Linked DNA regions of Homo sapiens: region 2 is linked to region 1. Evidence: promoter capture Hi-C in 16 types of primary human blood cells and fetal thymus (Javierre and others, 2016). All regions are on one chromosome and are shown on one strand. Each heading gives the region's core, a stretch centred on a gene start or on the middle of the fragment in contact. The rest is flanking DNA. Distances are from core to core; before and after follow the strand shown.

Evidence for each region. The method cuts DNA at HindIII sites, captures the fragments that hold promoters and counts their contacts. A CHiCAGO score of 5 or more calls a contact.
Region 2: a fragment that was not itself captured here is called in contact with the fragment with the promoter of TMEM102 in region 1 in 1 of 17 cell types (total B cells); the score reaches 5.9 in total B cells.

The regions. Positions count from the first base shown.
Region 1 is chr17:7,433,811-7,437,093 of GRCh38, reverse strand. TMEM102 (transmembrane protein 102) reads right to left here and starts at 1,659. Exons shown (of 3, transcript NM_178518.3): 1 at 1,398-1,659; 2 at 1,009-1,241; 3 at 1-900. The coding sequence starts at 1,222. RefSeq lists a silencer at 1-109 and enhancers at 1-754, 1,806-1,975. The HindIII fragment of the contact is 10,292 bases long and covers 1-3,239 here.
Region 2 is chr17:7,053,225-7,056,507 of GRCh38, reverse strand. No RefSeq gene overlaps it. Among named protein-coding and RNA genes, the nearest start is that of SLC16A11, 11 kb to the right of the region's middle. The HindIII fragment of the contact is 959 bases long and covers 1,311-2,269 here.

The sequences.
Region 1 (3,283 bases), core at 410-2,909:
GCTCCTGGCGGGCAAAACAGAGCTGCCAGGCGGAGGCGCACGGCCGCTCGGTGCCGCCACCGGGCACCAGGTAGAAGGAAGCCGACTCAGAGGCCAGCGGACCGGCCCACGAGTGGCTCCGAGCCCCCTCGGGCCAGCCCGCCACGGACACCACTGGGATCAGGTCGAAGAGCAGGAGGCGGCGAGGGGGCTCAGGGGTAGCCAGGAGGACGGTGGTGAAACCCGCGTGGCGAGCTGCGTGCACCAGACGCGGAGCACCCGGGACAGGGATCAGAGACTCGGCGACCGCCGCCAGCGTAGCAAAGAACCAGGCAGCCACCTGGGCGGAACATAATGTGGGCCACGCTTCCCGAGCCTCCGACGGCTTTGGGACTGGGCTTTCGACGGCTGCCTTGGTGACGTCACTACTCATTGTTTTCAAAGGTGCGGTAGAGCCAAGGTCGACGACGTCATGCTGAGGCGACTCGGACGCTGAAACGTCACTAGGCGATTTTTCCAAAGACACCGGCGCCTCGTGCTCAGTGACGTAGCTGTGCGGCTGGTCTACAGAGCTTTGCCAGTCCTTGGAACTTTCTTCGCTCTCCGTTCGGTGGATCGAATCACGTGCTCCTGGGACTGGGGGTCCTAAGCAATCCTGCCACATCTCCCGGATGGGGGTTCCGCACACCATCTCTGGGAGGCAGACCTGTGCGTAACAGGATTCCAGGTCCAGTTGCAGTTCAGTGCCGTCCAGTGAAAACATGGGCACTAGGAGTGTGAAGCCGGCATCGTAGTGAGGTCCCCGGGCGTAGGGACCCAGGGGTGCATGCCCCAGATCCAGGGAGCCCTCGCGAATCCCACCACGAAGCAGCAAGAGCTCTGCCTGGGGAGGAAAGCGAGGGTCCCGGCGGTGAACTAGACCTAAAAAAAGGGAACGGATCGTGAGGGCGTCGCCCAAAGCCGGGGCGGGGGCGGGGGCGTGGTGAGGCTGAGAGCTGTGAGTTCCCAAAGGCAAGTAGGGTTACTTACCAAGCAAAGAGAAGACAAAGTCCTTGGCCCGGAGGAGATCGGCTCCCGGCTTGGGCCCGTCACTCCAGCTCTCCTGCACACCCAGCTCCTGGATCAGCTGGGTCAATTCCTGCAGCTGCGCCCCGGAGCAGAAGTCGATGTCCGTGAGCGGCCGAGCTGGGGCCGGGGGCGGCGGGCCCCACCAGGGGGCACTCCCCCAGACTGCGGAAGCCATGCGGTTCTATCGCTTTGGGCTGCGGAAAACACGGAAGGGAGGTGGCTTTGCTGCCACAAAGTCGTCCCCGTTCTTCCCTCTTCCTGAGGCCGAGCGAGTGCCCCAGACACAACCTACAAATGGGTCTGTAGATGATGGGTTCTAAATTTAGTCCTCAAAATGAACAAATAAATACCTCTTCTATCCTGGCCCTTTTCTCATAGGCAGGTCCCCGCCCCCATGAACTGGTTCACCGGACTCAGCAGGTAAAAAGTAACTGTTGGCTCCTCCTACGGAATGCAGTAGCCAGCCTCCGCTGCCGCCCCTTGTCTACCTCCCTTTACCTCTTTTTTGGAAGAGGCTTATTAGTCTGCGGCTTCCCCCTTATGGGAAGCAGTAAGGGTGGGGAGCAGAAATAGATTCAACAGGTTACTTCTTCCTGATGCCCACGTGGCCACGCCCCTACATTTTCAGCCACGCCCCTTTCTGGAGGCTGTCGAGGTGGTTTCCGCCGGGTCGGGTCGCCAGTCAGAGCTCAATCACTCTTTTGGCCCTGCTGAAATCCCGCGTTATCCTGGGAGTTGTAGTTTCCCGCTCTACTAGGGCGTGGTAGCCACGCCCCCACATCCTTTCCTGTTCCGCTGAAGTAGTGCCTGATGGAAGTTGTAGTTCCTCTGGAGACAGATTATTCTGTGTCTTTTCACACCCATATCAACCCCACTCAAACATTCCTTGGGGTTTGAGAGGGGTAATAGGATGGCTCTGAGTCGCAAAAAATAATGAGGGATGGGCCGGGCGCGGTGGCTCCCGCCTGTAACCCCAGCACTTTGGGAGACTGAGGCGGGTGAATCACCTGAGGTCAGGAGTTCAAGGCCAGCCTGGCCAACATTGCGAAACCCTGTCTCTACTAAAAATACAAAAATTAGCCGGGCGTGGTGGCAGACGCCTGTAATCCCAGCTACTTAGGAGGCTGAGGCAGGAGAATCACTTGAACCTAGGAGGGAAAGGGTGCAGTGAGCTGAGATTGTGCCATTGCACTCCAGCCTGGGTGATAAGAGCGAAACTCCACCCTAGGGCCTGGGGAGAGATAGGGACCCCTGCCTGGGTGGGGTGGGGGGGGTGCATCTTGGAATCCCAAAAGTGGTAGTGTTAGGCAGGAGCACACAGATGGTGACCCAGAAATGGACGTTTGACTCATAGGAGAGACATACATGTTAGTGATGCCCACCTCAGCTCACTGCTACCTGAGTCGTGGCAGGGAAAACACTTTGGGATCTCAAATTTTTGTTTTGTTTTGTTTTGTTTTTGAGACTGAGTCTCGCACTGTTGCCCAGACTGGAGTGCTGTGGCGCAATCTCCGCTCACTGCAACCTCCACCTCCCGGGTTCAAGCAGTTCTCCTGCCTCAGCCTCCCGAGAAGCTGGGATTACGGCGCCTGCCACCATACCTGGCTAATTTTTTGTATTTTTAGTAGAGACAGGGTTTCACCATGTTGGCCAGGCTGGTCTTGAACTCCTGACCTCAGGTGATCCTCCCACCTCGGCCTCCCAAAGTGTTGGGATTATAGGCACGCGCCACTGCACCCGGCCTGGGCCACGACTTCTTACATTCCTTCTGCCCTTGGTCTGTCTCCAGGACGGGATAGGCCTAAGTCCATGGATAAGATAATTAAGGAGGACATCTAGGAAAATTAGAGGCCTGTAAAAGAAGAGACTCCCCAACTGTAGAGATCAATTTGGCAAGCCCAGGACTCAGGGGTTCCTCGTCACTGACAGAGAGTTTTCTCCTTCAGCAACCAGAGCTGGGGTCCCTGGGAGAAGCGAGAGCACCAAAGCAGCCCAGAACTGCGCAAGTAGGTTCCCGTACACACACATCTGGCTGTGACCCAAGAGGCCAGATCAGGAGAACTGGAGACTGGGCTGTTTCTCACAGTCTGGAGTAACCAGGCATCAGACATCCCTGCATCTCACCTCCTTCCCAGAGGGTGGCTTCCGAGGCACTCTAAAAAGAACTAAGTTCTCTGGACTCTGTGGAAGCTTTGAAGATGTTAAGAATGGGTGACAAGGAATAGTTCCTCTAAAC
Region 2 (3,283 bases), core at 541-3,040, 380 kb after region 1:
TCTGGAAGCTGGGAAGCCAGAAGATTTGGTGTTTGGTAAGGGCTTGCTCTCATAGATGGCACCTTCTAGCTGTGTCCTCACAGGGCAGAAGGAGTGGACAGGCTGCCTCAGGCCTCTTTCATAAGGGCACTCAATCTCATTCACAAGGTCTTCATCCTCATGAAGGCCTCAGTCACCTCCTAAAGGACCCACCTCTTAATACTTCGCATTGGGGACTAGATTTTTTTTTTTTTTTTTTGAGATGGAGTTTCGCTCTTGTTGCCCAGGCTGGAGTGCAATGGCATGATCTCGGCTCACCACAACCTCCGCCTCCCAGGTTTAAGCAATTCTCCTGCCTCAGCCTCCCGAGTAGCTGGGATTACAGGCATGTGCCACCGTGCCCGGCTAATTTTTTTGTATTTTTAGTAGAGACAGAGTATCTCCATGTTGGTCAGGCTGATCTCGAACTCCTGATCTCAGGTGATCCGCCCACCTCGGCCTCCCAAAGTGTTGGGATTACAGGCGTGAGCCACCGGACCCGGCCTGGGATTAGATTTCAACATATGAATTTGACGGGGAGAGGCACAAACATTAAGATCATAGCAATTACCATCTTTTTTTTCCTCAAAAGTAGGAACTATTATAATTTGCTTTGGGGATGAGGGAACTATTGCAAAGAGAGGTTGAATAACTTGCTCTAGGTTATATAGCCAGTAAGTACCAAAGCCAGGGCTTGAACCCAGACAATCTGGTTCCAGGGTTCGTGTTTGTCCCACCATGTTATGTTGCCTCTTAATAACATATACTAAAATACACTCACATTCCACACTAAATATATTTTTACAATTAAAAATTTAAAAGATTTCTTTTTTTTTTTTTTGAGACGGAGTCTTGTTCTGTCGCCCAGGCTGGAGTGCAGTGGTGCGATCCCTGCTCACTGCAAGCTCCGCCTCCTGGGTTCACTCCGTTCTCCTGCCTCATCCTCCCGAGTAGCTGGGACTACAGGTGCCCGCCACTACACCCGGCTAATTTTTTTGTGTTTTTAGTGGAGATGGGGTTTCACCCTGTTAGCCAGGATGGTCTCGATCTCCTGACCTCGTGATCCGCCCACCTCGGCCTCCCAAAGTGCTGGGATTACAAGCGTGAGCCACCGTGCCCGGCCCAAAAATTTAAAAGATTTCTAAGATTTTTTGCCGTTTAAAATCTTAAAAGGACGTTTATTCTTTTAAAGGATTGTTTGTCTATAAGAAACTCAGTGAATCTATGATTGGCTCTGATTTCTCAGCAATCACGATAAACATTTAGGAAATCCTGCAAAGTGAAAAAAAGCTTCAAATTGTTTTCCAATGTAATGAAAATTTAGGAACATGAAATTTAACAAAGAAATGGACTAATATTATGTTTTGTAGACATTTTTAAAAACGCTTTAATATTCATTACTTTAGATTTTTAAGTTTGCCTTTTGTATTTGGAAATCGGTACACTTTTTCATATCCCTAGCATTTCTGTAAGCATGGGGAATGCTTTTAGCCCTAAGCCCTGCATACTTAGGGAATAAATATACTCTCCTCAAGGACAACAGGGAAATAAACCCAGAAACCACATGCCATGCAAGAACAGCGGGGCTTTATGAGTCCTGGAGCTCAGGTGTCAGCCCACTCTGCTGCTCACTGTGTTCAGCACTCACTGGCCACAGTCCTGAAACATCAGCTCTTGGGGCGGTGGCATCAACTTCCTATCTCCCAGATCCCTGGGCCCAGGGAAGGGGAAGCTGATTACCCATAAATCAGGGTGCTCGGCCGGGCATGGTGGCTTAAGCCTGTAATCCCAGCACTTTGGGAGGCCGAGGCAGGTGGATTACCTGAGCTTGGGAGTTCACCACCAGCCTGGGTAACACGGTGAATCCCTGTCTCTACTAAAATACAAAAAATTAGCCGGGCATGGCGGCATGTGCCTGTAATCCCAGCTACTCGGGAGGCTGAGGCAGGCGAATTGCTTGAACCTGGGAGGCGGAGGTTGCAGTGAGCAGAGATTGCGCCACTGCACTCCAGCCTGGGTGACAGAATGAGACTCCATCTAAAAAAAAAAAAATCAGAGTCCTCTTTCTACGTACCCAGTTGATGAGATGCCCGAGGCCCCGCCTCACCTCTCTGTAGGCCTGTGCAGGTGTGATTTCCCTCCAGGTGAGACCATGACACCCGTCCCTCACAAATGTGTTTTAAACCAGAATCGGTCTCATTGCAAGGGACTCCTGATTGTGAATGGAGGAGAGAAAGATAGGATGAAAGCTTGAGATGGAGGTAGCTAAAGCTGGGTATGGCTCTTTGAATGGGATAGAGGGAAGGAACCCTAAAGAAGAGATGCTGCCCAGCATTTAAAACGTTTTGACAGTAGGGGAGAGGCAGGAGAAAGCTTTGCAGAGGAAATGGCATGGAGATGTGGGCAGGGGCAAAGGAGATTCATGGCCAACAAGAGGTACAGAAAGGAACGCACTGGGAGGGACAAGATCCACCTGCACAAGGACAGGAAGAGGCTTGTGTGGCATCCACTGCAGCCAGTTGCAGCCTCTTCAGCGTCTGGGCCCTTCTATGACTTTGGGACTTTCTCAGGGCTTAGCCCCCACGCGACTCCTCCCAGTGTTCACAAAGGCATTTCTGCCTTGGGGCAAGAAAACAGGCACCATTTGCTTACTGGGCCCCCAAAACTCTGCCTTGCATATGTCAGATCCTCCAAGATGTGTAATTTACATCCCTGCAGAAAACCTGTTATCTGACCTCCTGTCCCCTCCTGCCTTGGCTTCTGGTCCTGGTTGATATTCCTTGGGGAGGTAGAGACTCTGGCCAGGCAGGGCTGCTGCAGCCCTAAGGGCTGATGTGGGTTACCATGTCCACTAAGAGCCTGCATCCTTCAAGTCAGATGCCCAGGTCTCAGGCTGAGGCTGGGAAGGCAGACAAAGGGACCCAAAAAACTCAGGTAGCTGAGAGGTTGGTATAGCAGCAGGGAGATGACAAATATCACCTTCTGGCCCCTTCTGGTCTGACTGCCCCTCACAAATCCAGACAGGAGGGGCATAGTGACTTGGAGTAGAATTGGACTGGCGTAGAGATGAAAGGGTGGCTACCGGTGGCTAGAAAATGGGATGGAATGAAATGGATGGGAACCTACATTTGTAGGACGCCTGCCCTGTGCCTGGAGTTGTGCTGGGTCCTTCCCAAGCTTTACTTCACTGAAGTCTCACCAACAATCCTTTGAAGCATTGCCCCCTTTTTATAGATGCCTGGAAATGGTGGGAGTCGGAACTCAG